Regions from separate parts of the Homo sapiens genome. Here regions 1 and 3 are each linked to region 2. The links are contacts of gene promoters, found by promoter capture Hi-C in blood cells and fetal thymus (Javierre and others, 2016). All regions are on one chromosome and are shown on one strand. The core of a region is centred on a gene start or on the middle of the fragment in contact, and the rest is flanking DNA. Distances in the headings are between cores, read along the strand shown.

What was found. Contacts are between HindIII fragments. The CHiCAGO score rates a contact against its expected background, and 5 or more counts as called.
Region 1: a contact is called between a fragment that was not itself captured here and the fragment with the promoter of EPM2A in region 2, in 1 of 17 cell types (fetal thymus). The highest score is 9.9, in fetal thymus.
Region 3: a contact is called between a fragment that was not itself captured here and the fragment with the promoter of EPM2A in region 2, in 1 of 17 cell types (fetal thymus). The highest score is 5.6, in fetal thymus.

Annotation. Positions count from the first base shown.
Region 1 is chr6:144,585,668-144,588,614 of GRCh38, forward strand. The region is part of intron 51 of UTRN (utrophin); the gene reads left to right. Among named protein-coding and RNA genes, the nearest start is that of SNORA98, 180 kb to the left of the region's middle. The HindIII fragment of the contact is 3,913 bases long and covers 1-2,947 here.
Region 2 is chr6:145,734,225-145,736,924 of GRCh38, forward strand. EPM2A (EPM2A glucan phosphatase, laforin) reads right to left here and starts at 1,296. Exons shown (of 4, transcript NM_005670.4): 1 at 974-1,296. The coding sequence starts at 1,274. It overlaps EPM2A-DT (EPM2A divergent transcript), which reads left to right and starts at 645. Exons shown (of 3, transcript NR_038246.1): 1 at 645-696. RefSeq lists a silencer at 771-1,360 and enhancers at 1,521-1,580, 1,591-1,640, 1,661-1,710. The HindIII fragment of the contact is 8,125 bases long and covers 1-2,602 here.
Region 3 is chr6:146,766,581-146,769,280 of GRCh38, forward strand. ADGB (androglobin) reads left to right here. Exons shown (of 36, transcript NM_024694.4): 29 at 2,440-2,551. The region is part of intron 1 of LOC105378040 (a long non-coding RNA gene); the gene reads right to left. Among named protein-coding and RNA genes, the nearest start is that of ADGB, 170 kb to the left of the region's middle. The HindIII fragment of the contact is 258 bases long and covers 1,210-1,467 here.

The DNA of each region.
Region 1 (2,947 bases), core at 23-2,522, 1.1 Mb before region 2:
CTTAATTGTATTTTAATTATCAATAGTCCATGTGTCATACCTAAAAGTTTAAATGGGTTTGACATTTATTTGCTTTAAGACACTGTAAATTCCCTTCCCATTAAATTGTAAATGCTGTCTTGACTTTCTCCTTATTCCTCCCACATTCTCTAAATTTAGTTTCTTAGAAAAAAATGCTTTAAGTTTGTGTATCTCCATAAAAATACAGAAACAGTCTATTGTAAATACATGTAGAGACCAAAATGAATGAGAATAAAATGTGGCATAATCTGAGGGAAATTTGACTATTTAAAATTCATATTGGCATTTTGAAATTCAGTGTCTGAATATTTTTATCTTCTTTTAAATTCCTCTTGAGGATCATTCTTTTTATGTATTATTTGTTTAGTCTTTTGTTAGACTTTTCCCTCTGTGGCAGCTCGTCTTTTCTGCTTATTTTCATACTTCTCTTGTTTGTCAGAAGATAGTGTGTGTGTTACACGAGTAGATACTTGTGTAGAATATTCTCATTTTGTGGGTTTTCTTGTATGTTTCAAAGAGAAGGGAGGAATGAAAAAAGGCATGTCACAGCTCTCAGAGTTAAAATATACTCCCCTCCCACAATCTATTTACACATTCACGTGTATTTTTTGCCTTTAAAAATATTTCTTCTCGGTTATACATCCAATAAAATTTGAGCAGGAAGCAAAAACGTAAGTGCTGCTTACTTGGAGATATAATTAGCAGCATTGAAATTGCCCTGATGACCTAAAATCACCCTACACTGGATGCTAATTTTCTCAGATATGGTTTTGTTTGCTTAGTTTCTTTAAAATTTTCATGCCTATAAAATAATTTTTCTTTTAGTAGAGCACAGTAGAAAAAAAGCTGATGTAAATGATTTGAAAAATAATATTGAATTTAATTTGTTTTTATTGTTACGTGATTACTTTGGGGTGTTTTATATCATGAAGTCTTTAGATTAGAACTGGGTTATTTGTGTTAATGTTAAATCAGAAGAGATTTTTGTAAGTCCTCCTTATTTTTTTCTTAGTGCCAATTTCTGTAAAATATTTAGCAATTGAGGGCATGGTAAAAAGCAGTTTCCTGTAAAGTAGATTGGGATATGAACATTATAGAAAAATGAGAAAAATTTAAAAATATTTAGTGCTGTAAATTGACTCCTTCGTGACTCAAGCATTTTAGAAAATGTTGATTTAAGTGATATAACTTCTATTTGCTTGAATGTATATGTAAATCATTTTAGTTTAAGTGGTTTTAGTCACCCCCCAAACTATTCTGATCATATTTCTTCAGCAAAAATCTTTTAAACATCTAGCTGTATATAGATGTGTATTCATTTAAAAATTATACATATATGCCATGGTGAAATCATGTATTAAATATTAGTAGTGTATAATTTTGTTCTTACTTTCTACTGTTGCCTTTTTGTACCACAGTTGATTCTTTTTCTCTATGTGGTATACACAACACGATTTTGGTGACTAGTCATTTACATACAGAGTGAAACTATGGCTATTCTTAGCCTGGCCTTCTAGGGGGCTTGAGCTTTCAGTGTGGTGCTGATCTCAAAGTCTTCCCCGGAATACTGTGTCTTCTGTGGTATTAAAGCAACTACTTCTGAATATTCTGTGAAAAATAGAAGAGACCAGAAGATTCCACCTGGGAAGTCACGATTGACCAGTGATGTCTACAAAAGGCTTGCTTTGTGGCTGTGTGTGTGTGTTTTCATGTGTGGACGTGGACAACACAGAACTATGTAGTTGCTTGTAGTGCTAATGAGTAAATAGATAATGAACATGAAGGCACATTAATCTCTCAGCAGGTTTTTATGTTCACTGATGAAGTAAGGTCACATATTATTTTTCATCTACATGTACAGCTCCCTGTATTTAGAGGTAGTTAAGGTTGAGTATGTGGTTTTTTAGAAGACACTGAATGGAGTGGTGTATTTTCGACCGGTTGAATTTTGTATTTTTTACTCTCAAACATTTCCCCACCTTTTTTTCACAGGAGAACCCTGCTCTCCTTGGACAATTAAATCCTGAAGTGATCCAGGGCAATGGAGATTTACTTTAACATGATCTGATTGTTGAGATGTGTGTATTTTAAGGTCAACTCTTGGATTCCCTCAGTTTCTCTCAATAACCAACTCATACATAGATTGTTTGAACCATGGAGCTCAGAGTCATGACCCTCTAGTCTGCAAGTTAGAATTCCCACTTGATCATATGAGTTGTCTCTTCTTGGCTTCATGAGAAAGTCTTGGTTAGATTAGTACAGAAACTGTGTGAAGGTTGAGGTTTAATGGAGAAAAATGGCGTATGTAGATGGGTTTGCCTCCATCTAACCCTCTCTATGGATGCTGTAGGTGTGTTTCCTGGGAGCTGTATGGATACCCACACAGACTACTTTCTCTACTCTGCGTTTGTTTCTGCACTTCCTAGTCAGGTCAAGATTACAGACAAAAGTGAGACGGGATCAAGGAGAAAACACCTGCACCCCTGCCTGCCACTATCAGACATGATTCCTGTGGCTTCCAAGAGCACAAGTGCCATTTTAGAAAGCTCTTGGACCTCTGTTTTGCTGTAGTTCCCCAAGTTGATATGTGTTGTCAAAATTATGTTTTTAAAAAGTTATCCAATTAACTAACATTTTCTTAATCAGAAAACTCATGCTATCAATGACTTGGATAAAGTCAATATAATTAGCTAAAAACAGTATAATTAGATCTGATGCAATGCTTTGTCACTCACTTAAAGAATAACTAATACATTCTATAAGGTAGCATTTTAAAATTCTTTTATAGCCAAGATATCATTATCATTGGTGTATGTCTAGAAGTGTAATACTAGTACAAATCCGGAACAAATAGAAGGTCCTTCTGAGATGGAGTTGAAGTAGTATTAAGGATACGGATAAAAGGTCTCTTTTATTTGTAGAGTAT
Region 2 (2,700 bases), core at 46-2,545:
AATTTGTTGCCATTTAAAATATACATCTACATGTAAAATACATATCTACGTGTAGTGACAGTGAAAGATGTCCCTAACATATTGTTAGGCAAGAAAAGCAAAAATTCAGAATTACTATACAATTTTTGTAAAAAAAAAAAGTATATGCATATATCACATACATAAATGTGTACAAGCAGTGTGCTTAAGATGTGTGGAGGAAACACTGTAAGTTTTCACTATGTACATTTCTTTATTATTATTTTACAACCAGCATGTATTGTTTTAGTATTTTAAGAAATCAGGTCATGTCTCAATTGTCATATATCTGGGATTAAAAAAGAAAAAAAAATCCAAAAAGGGAAATATTCAACGTTTTTCCATTAGTTCATTCTCAATATCTATGAAAAAAATCTAAGTAGCACATTGCTGTCTAGGATTAGCGAAAACGCTAGTTTCGTTGGTTGGATCGTTTTGGGTTTTTTTTAGTGAATTAGAGCAGGAAAATGAGGACACAAAACCCAACCAAGGCGGAGTTGGGCTGTTGAAGCCATCAGCGGCGCGCGGCCGGGCAGCCAAGGGACCCGCGAAGGGGGGGACTCGGAGGTCGAGGGGCACTCGGAGGGCGAAGGGAGCCCCGGGCGGGAGACGAAGGGCACTGGCCCGTGACGCAGGCGCGGTTGGAAAGAAGCTGAGGACTGGATGTGCGGAAACCAGGTCAGAGGGGCAGGCAACAGAGTGGGCGGGAAGGCGGCCGGGAGCGCTATACGGGTCTAGGGAATCAGTAGGAAGCCGGAGGCGCGGCTGGCGGCGACAGCGTGGCCGGCAGAGCAGGGTCAGCCCAGGTCGCCCGGGGAGTGCGCAGGGACGCGGGCAAAAAGCCCGGGACGCGCGCCGCCGGGGCCTGCGGGGCCTGCCCGAGGCCGAGGCCCCGGTTGGGGGTGCGGGCCGGAGCTCCCGCTCTGCGCCGGGGGCAGGCGTCTGCTGGCAATACCTTCCCAGGAGAGCTCTCCTCCCGGCTCCCGCTTCAGGAACTTGTACCAGAACGTGTCCACGCGGCCCGGCTCCGCCCCGTCCTGCGCCGCCTCCTCGGCCGCCAGCTCCACCTCCCCGAGCCACAGGCCCGGCTCCTGCAGGGCCAGGGCCCCGTCGCCCGCCGCGGTGCCGGCCGGCCTCAGGCGGACGGCACCGCGCGGCTCCCAACGCCCCAGCTCGGGCCGCGACCCCACCACCAGCAGCTCCGGCCGGGCGCCGGCCACGGCGGGTGGCACCACCACCCCAAAGCGGAAGCGCATGGCGGGCGGCGGCGGCGCGAATACCCGGGCCCGGAGTCCCCGCGGCCGGCAGGCGCGGCCCGAGCACTAGGCGGCCGCAGCGATTGGGCGGTGGTGTGGGAGCCCCGGGCACCGGGGAGAACACGTGCTGTTCTGCGCCTTCTTTGGGATGCATCACGCGGCTCCCGAGCCCAGACTTCGTCCAGGCCGGCGGGAAGGGGTCAGCGGAGCCGCTAGCTGCCTCTTTGTGCCCCGCAACCCCGCGGGCGGTTGATTTCCACCTGTGGGCGCTGGGGACACGCGACCGGAAGAAATGGAAGAGAAAACGGGGTTCGGGGAGGGAGGAAAACTTCTAAGCCAGGCGATCGTCCAGTTCTCTCTCCAAGAGACTGGAAATTAACTTTATGAGGATCATAAGGAAGGGAATGACCTCTAGACAGCCGCCTTCTAATTGTGAAACGGGGGAAGATCTTGGACCTGGTCTCTGGAGCGCTCCCTATCTTAACCAAGTCACTTACTCTAGCAGGTCTCAGGTTCTTTGTCTGTAAAATGAGGGTGTAAAATAATGATCTTTCTAGACCCTACGAGCTCTGAAGGATCTCTGATTGGTGGAGATCACCCAAGACCCGGAGCTGATGCAAAACATTACCTACCATTCCCTTGTCTGAAAAGCCACATCAACTTTCTTTTTTCAAAAACTATATTTTTAGTATGTGTAAAGTAAGTTTGGAGTAAATACTTTCAAGTCCTTTTCAAGGTCAAAACAAAAACTAATTCTGTGACTACAAATGTATGCTTTTTTTTTTTTTTTTGAGACAGAGTCTCGCTCTGTCCAAATGTATGCATTTTTAATGGAGTAAATTAAAAAAAAAAACCTTTGTTTAAAATTTACTTTCAGCAAAAGTCAGCATTATTTTTTCAACTTAAAACCTTTTTGGGTTTTAAGTTGAAACAGGTTTTTTAGCTGTCTGGCCCAAATCCAAAATACGTATATCTTGGTGGGGAACTTCAATTTGTCTCTGCCATAAGACAAACGAATGTCCTGATACTTTTTGATTCTTTAACAAAATTATCCTTGTATTCTTAGGTTTATATATTCACTAACATTTAACATAACACAAATCTGTTACGTGAATTAAAGACACACAAAGGCATTTTTACCAGTGTTTGGAAGTTTGTGAATAGTAAAGGGGAACAGGCCAAAATTTCATGCGTTGAGGATATAAGTAAAACAGAAAGTGCAAAAATGTAAACTACACAAACTCAATCTCTTGTGGAACAATTAGAAAACTAATAATACATTTTACTCTTGAATGTTGATATTCCACTCGAAGTTTGGTTGGTTGCTAAGCTTAAGGATAAACACTATGAAAAATGTGAAGACAGAAGGGCTGGCCAAACACAGCTGATTCGGCAGCAAATCACACATTAAATCACAGTGGCATGT
Region 3 (2,700 bases), core at 89-2,588, 1.0 Mb after region 2:
GTAAAGAATAATAAAATTGAAACGATAATTCAAAGTCCTCTAAGTCTTCCCTTTCCAAAAAACCATAGGCCCCCTTTTGGCTTTATAGGATAGGTCCAATAGACTTTTAAAAAGTAATTTCTTACGGAAAACAAACAATATAACTTTTCAATCCTTTTTAAGAAATTAATGTAATCCTGATTTCAAAACCAGATAAAGGTAACACAAAAAGGAATAAAATGTATTTATAAACATAGGTGATAAATTGCAAATAACATAATAGATATCCAATTCTAGCAGTGTATTAAGCAATCAGACAGAATTCTTCTCAGAAATTCAGAAATCTTTTACCATTGGAAAATCTATCAGTATTAGTCACTACAGTAATACACTAGATGAGAACAATCATATAATCCTGAAACATTTGACAAAGTTTAACACCTATTTATGGATTTCTAAAATGTGCTCTTAGCAAACTAGGCATAGGAGAGAACTTCTTCATCATAAATGTTACATGCCAAAAATTTTACACTTAATGGCCAAATCTCATATACAAAACCATTATACTAATGTGGGAAGTGTAAGTGTGTTCCTATTAAAATTGGAATAAGAAAAGAATGCTTGCTATAATTGTTAGTATTTAATGATACTGAACTATTATGATAATGGAAAGCCACAATGATACAAAGAACAAAATAATTAAAAGATTATTCTAAATAATCATTGAATTACTCACAGATAATATAATCATATGCCCAAGAAAAAACAACAGAATAAACAAACTTTAGAACTAAGAGATTTTGGCAAGATTGCCAAAGACATTAATAGTAATAACTAATATATTGACTTACTTATTACTTACTATGCACCTGATACTATGTGCTTCACACATAGATCTTGAATTCTCCCCATCAACTTTTTTCTTTTTCTTTTTTGAGACAGAGTCTCACTCCATTGTCCAGGCAATGGCGTGATCTCAGCTCACTGCAATCTCCACCTACGGGGTTCAAGTGATTCTCTCGTCTCAGCCTCTGGAGTAGCTGGGATTATAGGCACATGCCCCCACACCCGGCTAATATTTTTTGTATTTTTAGTAGACAAAGGGGTTCTCTACCATGTTGGCCAGGCTGGTCTCAAACCCCTGACCTCAGGTGACCCACCCACCTCAGCCTCTTGAAGTAAGTATTCTTATTATCTGTATTTCACAGTCAAGGAACCTGGAGGACAGGAAGCTTAAGTGACTTCCTCAAGGCCAAACAGCTGGTTTGTGCTAAAGCAGGACTTCAACCCAGACAGCTCTAGCTCATGAGGTCATGCCCTTAATCACAATGCTGTTCTGCTACTACAACTTAAACAAAAATCAGTAGTGTTCCTCTACACCGGCACTATGCATTAGACATCAGAATATGATGCCTTTAATAATAGCAGCAACAAAATCAGAAAACACCCAGGAATTAACCAAAAATATATCAGTTTTCCACATAGAAAAGCTTAACACTTGAATAAAGGCTACAGAAAGTAACCCAATCCACTGATGGACACAGATGACTTGAATAAATAGAGAAGCATTTCATGCTTTTCAGCAAGATGGCATAACAGTATAAAGATATGTTATCCTCAATCTGCCTTTAAATTCAATGCAATCCCAATCAAAATTCCCACTGTATTTTTCTGAAATTTTCTAAAGATACTTTAAAATTCATAGGAATGAATAGCAATTCACAAATAGCTAACGGAACTTGGGGAAAAAAGAGCAAAGTGTGTCTTAGTATTTCCAAAGACAAAAAGATATAGCAGTAAAAATAGTATTAATTAATGCATACATAGGTAAATGGAACAATAAGAGAAAGTAAGATAGAAACAGATCCATATTTTTATGAAAATTTCATATAGAATAGAGGCAACACCATAAACCAATGAAGAAAAGATGGACTATTGAGTAGGTTGTACTAGGAAAATTACATCTCCATGGAGAGAAATAAAACTAGATCACTAGCTAACATCATACATAAAGGTGAATTCCAGATATAGTGAACATTTAATTGTAAAATTTTAATCCCTAAATATAATAATAGATAATGTAGGAGACTATTTTTTTCTGTGTCATGATCACAAAGAAGAGAAAACCCTAAAGGCCAACAGCTTTGAAAAAATACTCAAACTTTATAGTAATCTTAAAAATGCAAAATACAATAGCAGTGAGATTTCACTTTATACCCACTGCACTCACAAAAATTATAAAGTTGGGTAGTGGCAGGTGTTGGTGGGGATGTGGGGCTATTAAACTTTTATAAAGTGTAGCGTTACAGAGTTTTGGAGAACATCCAGCATGATTTAACTAAATTATGACTGTCTGATCTGGAAAATTCTGCATTTATCATGTACCTAGCATAATAAATGACATTAGGCACATACCATGTATGTTCTTATCATTTTTAAACACTGCATTTTATTTCACAGAATTACAAGTATATTATACAGTGTTCGGTGTTGTATAACAGTTGGCCTCTCACTGAAAGCCAGCTGACATTTGTTCAAGCACTGAAAGACTTAAAGAAAAGTAATACCAAAGGTATGTCACCCTAAATGTTTAAACATGCACTTTACATTTGAATAAGTTGATATTTAAATATTTAATAATAAATTGATTTAGTCATGAAAATATCATTGTATGATGTTTTATTACACATTATAATTTGTACTCTATATCCTGTTACATTT